Linked DNA regions of Homo sapiens: regions 1, 2, 3 and 5 are each linked to region 4. Evidence: promoter capture Hi-C in human tissues and cell types (Jung and others, 2019). All regions are on one chromosome and are shown on one strand. The core of a region is centred on a gene start or on the middle of the fragment in contact, and the rest is flanking DNA. Distances in the headings are between cores, read along the strand shown. Region 1 holds the start of FBXW9 (F-box and WD repeat domain containing 9). Region 2 holds the start of TNPO2 (transportin 2). Region 3 has its middle 13 kb from the start of ZNF709. Region 4 holds the start of ELAVL3 (ELAV like RNA binding protein 3). Region 5 has its middle 6.0 kb from the start of DNMT1.

Evidence for each region. Contacts are between HindIII fragments. The study calls those that stand out against the background at their distance.
Region 1: a contact is called between the fragment with the promoter of FBXW9 here and the fragment with the promoter of ELAVL3 in region 4, in 2 of the 25 tissues and cell types used here (IMR-90 fibroblasts and dorsolateral prefrontal cortex).
Region 2: a contact is called between the fragment with the promoter of TNPO2 here and the fragment with the promoter of ELAVL3 in region 4, in 1 of the 25 tissues and cell types used here (dorsolateral prefrontal cortex).
Region 3: a contact is called between a fragment that was not itself captured here and the fragment with the promoter of ELAVL3 in region 4, in 1 of the 25 tissues and cell types used here (dorsolateral prefrontal cortex).
Region 5: a fragment that was not itself captured here is called in contact with the fragment with the promoter of ELAVL3 in region 4 in 1 of the 25 tissues and cell types used here (pancreas).

What each region holds. Positions count from the first base shown.
Region 1 is chr19:12,695,324-12,698,023 of GRCh38, forward strand. It overlaps FBXW9 (F-box and WD repeat domain containing 9), which reads right to left and starts at 1,308. Exons shown (of 10, transcript NM_032301.3): 1 at 850-1,308. The coding sequence starts at 1,258. RefSeq lists enhancers at 1,218-1,267, 1,578-1,637. The HindIII fragment of the contact is 8,232 bases long and covers 1-2,700 here.
Region 2 is chr19:12,722,546-12,725,245 of GRCh38, forward strand. It overlaps TNPO2 (transportin 2), which reads right to left and starts at 1,387. Exons shown (of 26, transcript NM_001382241.1): 1 at 1,224-1,387; 2 at 704-820. RefSeq lists enhancers at 1-538, 337-486, 539-1,157, 1,158-1,774. The HindIII fragment of the contact is 34,827 bases long and covers 1-2,700 here.
Region 3 is chr19:12,496,226-12,499,031 of GRCh38, forward strand. No RefSeq gene overlaps it. Among named protein-coding and RNA genes, the nearest start is that of ZNF709, 13 kb to the left of the region's middle. RefSeq lists an enhancer at 1-57. The HindIII fragment of the contact is 4,297 bases long and covers 1-2,806 here.
Region 4 is chr19:11,479,727-11,482,426 of GRCh38, forward strand. It overlaps ELAVL3 (ELAV like RNA binding protein 3), which reads right to left and starts at 1,320. Exons shown (of 7, transcript NM_001420.4): 1 at 874-1,320. The coding sequence starts at 882. RefSeq lists silencers at 1-32, 2,407-2,656, 2,687-2,700. The HindIII fragment of the contact is 31,814 bases long and covers 1-2,700 here.
Region 5 is chr19:10,199,580-10,202,282 of GRCh38, forward strand. No RefSeq gene overlaps it. Among named protein-coding and RNA genes, the nearest start is that of DNMT1, 6.0 kb to the left of the region's middle. RefSeq lists an enhancer at 583-1,083. The HindIII fragment of the contact is 3,674 bases long and covers 1-2,703 here.

The sequences.
Region 1 (2,700 bases), core at 58-2,557, 1.2 Mb after region 4:
AAGGGGGCTGTTTCTCAAACAGTATCTGGAAACCAGGGAGCCTTGTCAAGATGCAGAATGCAAGCCCCAGATGCAGATTCTGTGATATGGACGGGGTCCAAGCATCTATGTTTATTAAGCTGTTTGGGAGAGTCTGACCTGGGGGTTGGATGGCAACACCTTGAGAATCACTGATCCCGGAGTGATCCTGATTCCTCTCTAAGCAGAATCAAAGCTTCCAGGTTAAGGGTATCAAACACCCAAGCTGTAATACATCTTGGCTTAAGGGCCTGAGGATCCAGCTGTATCAGGATCAACAATATCGATTCAAAGGTCCCAAGCTGTCTTCCCTCAGGAACCAATCAACTCAGGGCCAAGAGCCACTGTCTCACCCCTAACTGGGTCAAGGCTCTAGGGCTCAGGAGTTTTGACATCAACAGGTGCTGTCTCAGCTTCTAAGCTGGACTCAGAACCTGAGGATCCTTGGGCTCACTTTGAGCCCCAGCATAAACTCCAGAGCCTAAGACTTCAAGTCCCTGTGTCAATCCCCAATCAGGGGTCAGTGGCTTAGTACCACAAGACCCCAAGACTGAGGATATTTGGATCCTGAGTCGTCCAGGAACCACAGCCCCATGTTAGGGTTTCACAGCCTCAGGACCCCAAGTGCCTGACTGCCTCGTGGTCCACCCAGAGGTCCTCAGGGGCTTCGGCACCACCAGTAACTACCTTAGCCTCCAGCCTGAGCCAGGACAGCCACGAAGCCTGCACCAGAGGCTGCATCCGGAACACCCCATGTACCTCTTCCCCGCCCCAAGCCTGACCTGGGCGGGCGCCCCCGGCCCCCGGTCCCCGGCCCCCGGCCCCGCGCACCTTCCACCACTGGGTAGGGCGCGCGTACGCGGCGTAGCGCGCGTAGCCTCCAGGTGACATGGTCAGACACGAGGTCGCGGAGCGCGTGGCACACCCGCGACAGGACGTGGAGCACGAGGCGGGCGTCCAGGTAGGAGCAGATCTCGAGCAGCAGCTCCGGGGGAAGGCTCAGAAGGCCCGGCTCACTTACGGCCGAAACCCTGGACGCGGCCCGAGGCTCCGAAGCGCTCGGGGACGCGGCGGGTGTGGATAGCTGCGAGGGGCGCGAGAACGCCAGCCCGGATTTTGGCGGACTGAGAACGCGGGCCACGTAGGCCTTGGCCTGCGCGTCTGGGTCTGTCTCTGACTCTGGGTCCGAGTCATCGTCCCAGGTGCGGGAATCATCGCACCGCCCTAGGGGAAGCTCCATTGCGACCGGGTGGGCGCTGCCGGCCTCGCGTCTTGTCTCCTAGGCAGCACGAGGGCACTTCCGGCGCTGTCTGATGACGTTTATGCGCCCACCGGAAGCGACGAAGTCAGACACTGGCTTAATACAGAACATCGCCCCGCTTACAGGGTCTCTTGCAACTGCGTCGGCCTTAGGCTGGAAAATGCAGGTTCCTGTTTCTGCGCTTTTTAAACTAGCCGATACCGAGAGCCAGCCAACTCTAGCTAAAAACGAAACTCAAGCCAGGCGGGGTGGCGCGCGCCTGTAGTTCCAGATACTCAGGAAGGTGAAGGGGTAGGATCCCTTGAGTCCAGGAGTTCGAGACTGCAGTGAGCCATGGTTGTGCCACTGTACTCCAACCTGCGCAACATAGTGAGACCCTGTCTCTTTAAATTAGACATAAAATAAACACTGCTTTAACGAAGGCATCTGTTATATGTGACACTGAGCTTAGAAACCCAAAGGCCCCTTTCCGAGTTCAAGGAGTAGAGATTGGAACTCTTGCCTCTTTTCCCAGAGCCAGAAATATGCAGTTACACTGCAGAGGCATCAGTTAAGTGACTTTTTTTTTTTTTTTTTTTTTTTTTGAGAAAGGAACTGGGGCCTCAGAACTACCTCTCCAGACCCCATTCCCCAACCCAACCTTGGAGGACAGCAGTTCAGTCCTCCAAGCGGAGTGCTTGGCTCATTGCAACCTCCGCTTTCTGGACTCAAGTGATCCTCCACCTCGGCCCCCCAGGTAGCTGGGACTACAGGCGCGCACCACCACACCCGGCTAATTTTTGTATTCTTTTGTAAAGACAGGGTTTCACTACGTTGTCCAGGCTGGTCTGGAACTCCTGAGCTCAAGCCATCCGCCCCCAACTTGGTCTCCCAAAGTACCAGGATTACAGGCGTGAACCATCGCGCCTGGTGGAAAGCTACCTTTTTCTTTTTTCTGAGACGGAGTCTCACTCTGTCACCCAGGCTGGTGTGCAGTGGCGCGATCTCGGCTGGCTGCAACCTCCGCCTCCCGGGTTCAAGCGATTCTCCTGCCTCAGCCTCTAGAGTAGCTGGGAATACAGGCACGCGCCACCACTCCTGGCTAATTTTTGTATTTTTCAGTAGAGACGGGGTCGCACTATGTTGGCCAGGCTGGTCTCAAACTCCTGACCTCGTGATCCGCCCGCCTCAGCCTCCCGAAGTGATGGGATGACAGGCGTGAGCCACTGCGCCCGGCCTAACATCACACTTACTAAAACAGCATGTTGGCCGGGTGCGGTGGCTCAGGCCTGTAATCCCACCACTTCGAGAGGCAAGGTGGGTTAATCACTTGAGGTCAGGAGTTCAAGACCAGCCTGGCCAACAAGGTGAAACCCCTTCCTACTAAAAATACAAAGAATTGGCCGGGTGTGGTGGCAGGCACCTGTAATCTCAGCTGCTCA
Region 2 (2,700 bases), core at 137-2,636, 1.2 Mb after region 4:
CCAAAGAGAGAGAATTAAAAAAAAAAAAAAAAAAAAAAAAGAAAGAAAGAAAAAAAAAAAAGAAAAACGCGGCCGTAGGTGAGCCGCCGCGGCTCCCGTACTCCGTTCAAACTGGTCCCGCCGAGCCAATCGGAAGGTTCAACCTTCACACGTGCCCTGGCACTTGGGAAACCCGGGCTGAGACAAGGTCCGGTCACGTGACCAAAGAGTTGCCGTTTCTTTGGCCTCTCTAGCCAGCCGGTCCTCCCAGTGTCTCGTTTTCCCAGCATCTTTCACTGACCTGACCGCAAGCTCTTTAGCTGGAGCCAGGAGTTTGGTAGCGCGTGGGGACTTTGTGTGTGATGGATCCAGGAACCCCTCGGCCAGAGCCAGCACCCTCCTTGTCACCTTCCTCCACTAAAAATTGAAATGTGCCTCCCTTCCCCCATCCAGAGGTACTTGGGAGGAGTACGCTGTGTGTGCGCAAGGAAAGAGCTGAGCGTGCTCTTTATACCCCAGAGACAAAGGAAAGAAAGCAGGACAAAGTAAGTGCCTGAGACAAGCCGGGTTCCTACAGAAGCCTCTGCCACTTTTTGCATTATTTTCCAGTACTGTTTGATAGTTTTTACAAGGAGATGAAAAAGCCACAAGGATATAAATTTTTGAATAAAACGAAATGAACTAATAAAATAAACTTTGAACCACGCCTAATCCCTTTCCCTACCTGAAGTTGAATGAGGTGGAACAGCGCAGGAAATTCTGGCAAGGGCAGGGTCATGAAGAAAGAAATCTTCTTGATCCTTGCGACGTCTGAAGACAGTAGGGCACCGTTTTTCCTTCTCTTGAGAGAGGAGCAGATGGTAAAAAGCTGGAGACCCTGTAGCGTCTTGGTTTCCCCTCCCTGCCCTGCCGATAACAAAGTGGGAGACCTCCTGCCACTTGAAGCCTCAGTTTCCCCACTTGTCAAATGGGTATAAGAGCAGTTCGCGCGATTAGAGATCATCCAAGTTAAGCATGACCTGGCCAGCTCTGAATTGTTCCTTAAAAACGTGGCTTTACCCTCCAAGGCTCAAGGCTGTTCTTTTACTGTATTCAGCCCCTCCCTAAGCCGATATTTAATGAATTCACCAGCTCTAATCCCAAAGAACAACCCACCCTGCCCTGAGGAACTTTTTGACCCTCGAGAGAGGCAGAGGTCAATTTTTGCCCCTGCCTGAAGGAGGGGAACAGCTATCTCAACCCACTTGCCGTAGGCAAAGTCAGTCCCGGCTCCGTTCATTCATGAAAATCAAGTCCCGGGCCTCCAAGGTTAGGGAAGTGTCGGCAGGCGCCTAACTCCACTCGGAGAATCGCGGAAGACACCCTAAAGGAGCAGTTGGGATTCCGAGGTAGCCAGTTCCGCTGGACTGAAACCTGGGCTGAGAAACACGTGCAGAAAGCCGCCACCAAGGCATGCGTAAAGGCCTCCCTCTCCCCCACCCTCCGATAAGCCCTGGAACTACAAATCCCGTCCTGCCATGCGCCAGGGTCGCCGCGCTTTGGGGTTTTGGCTGAGACTCAAATTGGCAGGAGGGTCTCTAGACCAACCGAGGTGCATGGGGAGCAGAAGAGTGAGACTGGGGAGCTGGGGCTGGATTTGGGGGTTCCTGGAGCGAGTGTGAACGATAAGAGCTTTCTGGTCAAATTTGGGGGCTGCCCCAGATAAAGATCAGATGGGGAGCGAGTTTGGGATGCAGGAGACAATTTGTTAAGGTTCACCCCCTTCATATAATATGGCAAATTTTCAGCGGCCCTCCGCAAGCCTTGGGGCAGAACAAAGTAGCCCCTGCTGCATGTGTGGTCCACATTGTTGGCCCTTGTGTGGTCACGGAATTTTTTCTTCCTCTCCAGCTGGTGAATTTGAGTGTTGAATCAGGACAAGGTTTTGGGTTTTTGTTGTTTTGTTGTTTTTGTTTTTCTATTTCTTTGTTTTGTTTTGTTTTGTTTTTGAGACGGAGTCTCGCTCTGTTACAAGGCTGAAGTGCAGTGGCGCGATCTCAGCTCATTGTAACCTCCGCCTCCCGGGTTCAAGCGATTCTCCTGCCTCAGCCTCCCGAGTAGCTGGGATTACAGGCATGCGCCACCACGCCCGGCTAATTTTTTTTAATAGAGATGGGGTTTCACAATGTTGACCAGGATGGTCTTGATTTCTTGACCTCATGATCTGCCTGCCTTGGCCTCCCAAAGTGTTGGGATTACAGGCGTGAGCCACCGCGCCTGGCTTTTTTTGTTTTTTTGTTTTTTGAGATGGTGTCTTGCTCTCATTGTCCCGGCTGAAGTGCAATGGCTCAATCTCGGCTCACTGCAACCTCCGCCCCCGGATTCAAGCGATTCTCCTGCCTCAGCCTTCCGAGTAGCTGGAATTACAGGCGCCTGCCACCACGCCAGGCTAATTTTTTGCATTTTTAATAGAGATGGGGTTTTGCCATGTTGGCCAGGCTGGTCTTGAACTCCTGACCTCAGGTGATCCACCTGCCTCGACCTCCCAAAGTGCTGGGATTACTGTGCCCGGCCCAGTTTTCCTATTTCTTTCTTTCTTTCTTTTTTTTTTTTTTTTTTTTTTTTTTTTTTTTTTTTTGAGACACTGTCTTGCCCTGTCGCCCAGGCTGGAGTGCAATGGTGGGATCTCAGCTCATTGCAACCTCCGCCTCCGGGATTCAAGCTATTCTGCCTCAGCCTCCC
Region 3 (2,806 bases), core at 303-2,802, 1.0 Mb after region 4:
CCAAGCTGAAACTAAGTTGTTTATCTGACCTTACAAATTATCAGGAGAGAAAGAGATGCTGGTCAAATCCCCAACAGGCCAGTTTTAGCCAACATGATAAAGAAAGTCCCCTCTGCTTTAACTTTTACCAGAAAAGCAACTTTGAAAGTTCCCGTCTTTCAACTGGGCGTGATGGCTCACGCCTGTAATCCCAGCACTTTGGGAGGCCGAGGTGGGTGGATCATTTGAGGTCAGGAGTTCGAGACCAGCCTGGCGAACATGGTGAAACCCTCGTCTCTACTAAAAATACAAAAATTAGCTGCATGATGGCCTGTGCTTGTAGTCCCAGCTACTCAGGGGGCTGAGGTGGGAGGCTCACTTAAGCCCAAGCCCTGGAGGTCGAGGCTGCGGTGAGCTATGATCTCGCCACTGCGCTACAGCCTGGGTGACAGAGGGAGACCCTGTCTCAAAAAAATAAACATCAATAGCGGTTGAAAGCCCCATGACTGGGGAGCAGCAGCCAGAGACTAGTGACTTCAAGCTAAGACCACTCTTGAGCCTGCAAAGGGAGGTCATTGAAAGCCCAGATGGGTCTTCCTGGGGAGCCTTCCCCAAAAGTGTCCTACTTGCTCTCACCCACCAAGGAAAGAGCTCTTTATACAGAGAGAAGCTACAGAGCACTGGAATGCTGGGAACCGCACGCGGTTTTAGGAGAACCGGGAGGGTTTTAATTGTCTAGGTTGTAATTGTAGTTTCCTTGGGTCTACTTTTAGACATTAGGTTTGAGTTTTGCTTTCACATTAGGGTACACTCGTGGTGTAATTTTTCCATATTGAAAAAGTCTGTGAAAGTTACAAGTTCTGTCTCCTGGACATGGTGTTAATGACTTTGGGAGTTCATTTGTGTCAGAACCTTCATCTGAATCCAGCTGACAGTTTCGTCACTTACGAGAACCAGTGGGAAGGGGCATTCTCTGCTCCCGGAGTTCATTCCTGTGGCTGCTCAGGTGTCCCTGCTGTCACCAGGGACTATTCCACTCTAGGGACTATACCCTAACAGGGAGAGAGTGTGGACTCCAAGCTTTGGTATGTGTTTAACCTTCTGGATGTTGGTTTTTCTTCTGAATTGCGGAGAAGCAGGCTGCTTATCTGAGCTGATTCAATGTTTGTGTTTCTTTCCTTTGGATTCCTTTTTCTATTGAATATTGCAGCACTTTAACTCCAGTTTCCTTTAACATTTTGTAATTTTATTCCCTGTATGAGTCTGTAGGATTTTTAGTTTGTTGGTCTTTGAAAATTTAAGTTGATTGAGAAATATGATGTAAGAGAAGCAAATCCTGGAACCAAATAGAATTTTTATTCCTTTCAGGCAAAAGAAGCTCATGGTGTGAGATGGATATGTTTAACTTCTCAGGTGCATTTTTATTTTTACATTAGTTTGTGTGTGTGCATATCCCTAGAAAACTTTCAAACTTCAAAGGCTCTACTATTCCCAGGGCAAATGGATTCCTGTTTTAATTGATACGAGGAAAACTACTCCTCAAAGCTTGTGTAATCTTTGAAAAATTCTACTACATTTAATGGTTATATCCAAACCCTAATGTATTATAATATGCTACTCTTTTTTTGAGACTGAGTCTTGCTCTGTTGCCCAGGCTGGAGTGCAGTGGCGCCATCTCGGCTCACTGCAAGCTCCACCTCCCGGGTTCACGCCATTCTCCTGCCTCAGCCTCCCGAGTAGCTGGGACTACAGGTGCCCATCACCACGCCTGGCTAATTTTTTTGTATTTTTAGTAGAGCTGGGGTTTCACCATGTTAGCCAGGATGGTCTCGATCTCCTGACCTCGCGATCCGCCCGCCTCGGCCTCCCAAAGTGCTGGGATTACAGGCGTGAGCCACCGCGCCCAATCTATAATATGCTACTCTTTCCTGAAAATACCCCTCAGTGTGAGATACAGTGGACAGACATGCTATGATGCAGATTCTCTTAAGATTTGAAATTTTACATTTCGTATAGTTTACACTTTTAAAAGTGTATAAAGGATTAAATCTTAATGAAGACAACTTAAAATTTAAAAAAAACTACATTATTTAAAGACTTTAATAGTAAAATATAGTGCAGATAAATATCTTCGTTCATTTTATTTTTTTATTTTTTATTTTTTTTGAGACGGAGTTTTACTCTTGTTGCCCAGGCTGGAGTGCAATGGCACAATCTTGGCTCACAGCAACCTCCACCTCCCAGGTTCAAGTGATTCTCCTGCCTCAGCCTCCCGAGTAGCTGGGATTACAGGCATGTGCCACCATGCCCAGCTAATCTTTTTGTATTTTTAGTAGAGATGGGGTTTCTCCATGTTGGTCAGGCTGGTCTCGAACTCCTGACCTCAGGTGATCTGCCTGCCTCGGCCTCCCAAAGTGCTGGGATTACAGGCGTGAGCCACCGTGCCCGGCCTTTTTAATGTATATTTTTAGACAGGGTCTTGCTCTGTCACCCAGGATGGAGTACAGTGGCACGATCGATCATAGCTCACTGCAGCCTCAGCCTCCCCTGCTCAAGTGATCCTCCCAACTCAGCCTCCTGAGTAGCTGGAACTACAGGCACATACCACCATGCCTGGCTAATTTTTGTATTTTTTGTAGAGGCAGGGTTTCACCAACCGGCAGGGTTGCCCGGGCTGGTCTTGAACTCTTGAGTTCAAGTGATCCTCCTAGCTCGGCCTCCCAAAGTGCTGGGATTACAAGTGTGAGCCACTGCACCAGGCCTCCATTCATTTTAGAGAGATAATACATGTGAAGGTTAAAAAAAAAAATCTATGAGACAGGAAAAT
Region 4 (2,700 bases), core at 70-2,569:
AGCTGACCAGCTCCGTGGCTGCTGAAAGCACCGAGCGCGGGGCTAGCGGTGCGGGCGAGCAGGCGGGCGGGCCGCGCTCAAGGTCACCTCGCGGCCCAGAGCCTTGGCGAGGTGGGGAGCCTGGACCTGGCCTAAGGGGGCTGTCTCGGCCTCCCACCCCATCTCCCGGGGGGCGGAGACCCGGGAGCCCAGAGGTGCCCCCCCAACCCGCGGGCCCTCCTCTCCCCTCCCCCTCCCCGCAGCCCGAGGCGCCCGCGCGAGGCTGCGGCCCGCGAAGAAGCGCCGAGAAACAAAGGGACGCGGCAGCAGCGGCGGCGGGCCCGCGGGGCCTCCGGGCGCGCCCCCTCCTCTCCCCTCCCCGCTTGCCGCAAGGTCGACGGGCTCGAGGACGAGACGCCCGCCTCCCGGGTGCGGCCGAGGCCCGGGGCGCGCGATCCGACGCCACCCGCTTTCCCAGGGCTCTCGGGGACGCTTTGTCGCTTTGGCTTGGCCCAGCACCAGTGATCGGGCCCTGCGTTTGCCTGGGCGGCCTGCGGGGTCTGGGCCTGGATGGAGGAAGCATCCTTAGCCGCCGCGGCCCCTCCCCCATCAGGCCTGCTGGAGAGGGGGCAATCCCGCCTCCAGGGCGGCGTCGGACGCCTCCCGAATCGCAGTCAGTCTCCCTAAGGCCCTCTCAGACCAAGCTCTAAGCGCCCTCAGCACTCTGGGCGCGGCCCTGCCCACTCTCAGGCCCCGAGGCTTGGTCCTACCCCCCCAACCCGGGCCTAGCTAGGCCTGGTCCTACCCCCCCCGCCGCACCCGCCCAATCTCCGCGGAGCCTGGGCCCAACTCCTCCCCGTCCCGATTCCCTTTCGGCGACAGGGGAATACCTACAGTGACCATTCTTGTGTGCCCGGCGGGCGCGGTCCGTGTTGAGGGGGGCTCCGGGGGTGGTGCACTCCTAGGGGGGCGCCCGATGCTCACGCTGGGGTCCCGCCCGGGCGGCCTCTGGTGCGGCCGCTGCAGATGTGGCGATGAAGGCGGCGGCTCCCTCGAGGGCCAGGGACGGGCCCGAACCCGGGGATGCGCGCGCGGATGGCCGGGCCCCGGGGTGGCCTGCGGGCGGCAGGGGATGGAAAGAGGGAGCGGGCGCGGGGTTGAGGACGCCCCCTGCGCGGCCCCGCGGGGCCCGGGGAGGTTGCGCTTCCCGACAGAGATCGCGGCGCTCTGCCTTTCGCCGCCGCCCCTCGGTCGGTCCTGTCCGGTCCCGTGTGTTCAAGTCCTCTCCCCTCGCCCACCCTCCCTCCCTCCCTCCGGCCCGCGCTGCGCGCTCCGCGCTCTGGACCGCGCCGCCGCCGCCCCCAGCCCTTTATAGCAGCAGCTGCCAGCGCCGGCGTCGCTCATTGGCTGCGGCGACCGAGCTCCGCCTCCTCGCGGCTCCCGACGGCGCGGCAGGTGGAAGTGAGCGCGCACTGGTCGGGACTCTGAATCCCCCAAAAGCGCATCCTAGGTGCTCGGGTTGCCAGATTTGGGCCCTCCTTCCCTCGAGGCCCTTGCTTCCTACCCTGGCACCCCTTCTTGGGCTGGCTTTCGGGCCAGGAGACGGGCTCCCCTCCTCCGTCCAGCTCCTAGAGCTGGAGGAGCCAACAGAGCGAGGAGGTATTAGTGGCCTGAATATGCGACCTTCCAGAGGTGTTGTCCACTGAGGGAACTGGACAGGGGATCAGGAACCAATATTTTAGTAGGCAGAGGCCTGGGTCCCCAGATTTGGAGGCACCAGTGTAGACCACCTCAAGACCACGGGGGAGGGTGGCTACTGTGGCCCTAGTCTTCTGCAGAAGGAGACTGGGACGCTGTTGGTTTTGAGTGAGCTGGATCCTTCTAGGGTTCAAAAGGTAAGGACTGGCACTCCCCAGTGCAAGGAAACTCCGCACTGCTCCGAAGGGGGTGAAAAGGTTTGGGGCTCAGTGTTCTGGACAATCATCGCTGGAGCCATGCAGCTCTGGGAAACCACGGATCCTTCTTGGACCCCACAGAACTGGGGTGGGTGGATCTGCCACATAAATGTCCTGGCTTTCTAGGCTCGTGATTGGTCCTCCTGACTGTGGAGTCATGCTCGCTCTCTGCTAGGGGGAACCTGGCCTCTCTCTAAGGCGTTGGGGGTGGCGCAGCCTCCTTTGGTGCGCGGGCGCCGGTGCATGTTTACGTCGGGGCGCGGGAACTAGCACACACTGGGGCGGGGTCGCCAGGGCGTGAGGCTTCAGCACCACAGACAGCAATCCGACAGTCCGGTCGAGGGCGCTGCCGGCGAGGTAGCCCAGACCCCCTAACTGGAGAGCGGCAGTCCCCACCCAATCCTCGTTCCTGCACGCCCTTTAGGCTCCAGACTGTCAGAGAGCGCCACCAGCGAGGAGAGCCTAATTTGCCCAATCAGGGGCGGCCCTTGAGATAACCAGTTACTGGAAGATGCCCTAGAGATCGAGCCAATGGGAGTGCGCGCACCAGGGGATGCTGCCACGCCTGGAAAGGGCAGGCCAATCGCAGTGGCCCGCGCAATAGGGGCGGTGGCGGTGCAGATCCCCGGGTGGCCCCTCTTGGGCTCGCCGGGGCGACCTGGCTGCGGGCGCTAGGGGCCCCAAGCGATGGTCTGTTCCCCACCCCGTGTTCCTCCCGGTTTCCGTCATCGGAAACTGAGCTAGGAGGGGGGCTGCTCCTGGGCGC
Region 5 (2,703 bases), core at 117-2,616, 1.3 Mb before region 4:
TGCAAAATATTTGTATTATAAAATTCACAAGTGAATGTGTTTATATGCATGTACATATACATGCACACACAGTTCCCCCAACAGCTGGTAGGGAAGGGTCATCCTGGCCAGAAGTGAACCTTCACACAGACCCTCCATTTGCTATGAATTGCTCACACTTGGCAGGACCCAGGAAGACTGAATAATAAGACTAAAATTCCCAGCGATTAATATTGAATCAGCACTTACGTAGTCTACCAGGCTCTTTAGATAACTTTTTCTTTTTCAATTTTTTTTTTTTAATAGAGACAGGGTCTTACTATGTTGCCCAGGCTGGTCTTGAACTCTTGAGCTCAAGCAATTACAGGCATGAGCCACTGTGCCTGGGGCTTTTTGTTTTTGTTGTTTGTTTTTTGTTTTTGAGACTGAGTCTCGCTCTGTAGCCCAGGTTGGAGTGCAGTGGTGCGATCTCGGCTGACTGCAAGCTCCGCCTCCCGGGTTCACGCAATTCTCCTGCCTCAGTCTCCTGAGTAGCTGGGATTACAGGTGCCCGCCACCAAGCCCAGCTAATTTTTTGTTTATTTTTAGTAGAGACGAGGTTTCACTATGTTGGCCAGACTGGCGTCTAACTCCTGACCTCGTGATCTGCCTGCCTCGGCCTCCCAAATTGCTGGGATTACAGGCGTGAGCCACCGCGCCTGGCTGTTTTGTTTTGTTTTGTTTTTTGAGACAGGGTTTCACTCCCGTCTCTCAGGCTGGAATGGAATGGTGTGCAATCTCGGCTCACTGCAACCTCCACCTTCCAGGCTCAAGCAATTATCTTGCCTCGGCCTCCCGAGTGGCTAGGAATACAGGCATGCGCCAGCACGCCTGGTTAATTTTTGTAGAGACAAGGTTTTGCCGTGTTGCCCAGGCTGGTCTCAAACTCCTGAACTCAAGTGATCCTCCTGCCTCAGCCTCCCAAAGTGCTATAATTACAGGCTTGAGCTACTGTGCCCAGCCTTCTTCTATTTTGAGACAGGGTCTCACTCTGTCACCCAGGCTGGAATGCAGTGGCACGATCACCATTCACTGTAACCTCAGCCTCCCAAGCTCAAGCAATCCTCCCATCTCAGCCTCCCAAGTAGCTGGGACCCACAGGCACACACCACCAGGCTTGACTAATTTTTTATATATTTTTGTAGAGACAGGGTGTCCCATGTTGCCCAGCCTGGGAATTATTTAATTTAATCCTTAACCATAAAAGGTAGGTAGCAGGACCCTGTTTGCCATGGCCTGAAATATTCATCACATAGGACTCTCAGAGGCCACTTACCCAAGATCATAGACTCACTCAGCAGTACGGACCATGAATCCAGCTGTCTTTCATCCAGAACCTGAGGGCAAAACAGTGGCCCCAGGGATGGCCAGTTGTCCAGGCCATGGGAGACCAAAGGGATAGCACTTGAAGGAAGCTGGACTAGGGTAGGAACAGAAAGGGAATGACAGAAGACAGTCTCACCAGAGTGAACCTTAGGCCCATAAACCTGTCAGAACCCATGATCAGGGCCCCTAACCCACCTTAGAGCCAGGGGAGGAAATAAGAAGAGGGGACAGATGAACAGACCTCCTACTCAGGGACTTCAACGCAAGGAGACCAGCTGCATTTATTGGAGACTTCCTCTAAGCTAGATTTCCTTTGTAACAGCATTGTCAACCTTGTCAGGAAGAGATAGCTTGACCCATCTTCCAGATATGGGGAAAAAACTCAGATATGGAAACGATTTGCCTTAAGGGTACCCTGCAAGTTGGAATTTGCTTCCAAGTTGTCTGGGCAAAAAATCCAGGCATCTCCTTTCATGCCTCTCCTTGCCTCACATGCAAAACATGAGCAAGCTCTGCTGGTTCTTCCTCTAAAATATAAGCCAAGTCTTTCTACTTATCCACGCTCCTGCTACCCCAGCCCAAACTGCCATCATCACTCACCTGGACTTCATTCTAGAAGCCTCCTCCCTGACCTCCCAGCTGCCCTGGAGAGTCCCTTCCAAACGCTTCGGCTAGAAAGCTTTATTTTATTTATTTATTTATTTATTTATTTATTTAGAGACAGAGTCTTACTCTGTCACCCAGGCTGGAGTGCAGTGGCACAATCTCAGCCCACTGCAACCTCTGCCTCCCGGATTCAAGCAGTTCACCTGCCTCAGCCTCCCAAGTAGCTGGAATTACAGGCACTTGCCACCATGCCCGGCTAATTTTTGTATTTTTAGTAAATACAAGGCTTCACCATGTTAGCCAGGCCAACTCCTGACCTGTGATACACCCACCTCGGCCTCTCAAAGTGCTGGGATCACAGGTGTAAGCCACCGCACCAGGCCTTTTTTTTTTTTTTTTTTTTTTTTTTTGAGATAGAGTCTCACTCTGATGCCCAGGCTGGAGTGCAATGGTGTGATCTTGGCTCACTGCTACCTCCATCTCCCAGGTTCAAGCAATTCTCTTGCCTTAGCCTTCCAAGTAGCTGGGACTACAGGAACGAGCCACCATGTCCAGCTAATTTTTTGTATTTTTAGTAGAGATGGGGTTTCACCATGTTGGCCAGGCTGGTCTCAAACACCTGACCTCAAGTGATCCACTCGCCTCAGCCTCCCAAAGTACTGGGATTATAGGTGTGAGCTACGTGTCCGGCCTTTTTTTAAACAACAACAACAGCAACCCAGCTAGGGTCTCACTGTCACCACAGGCTGGAGT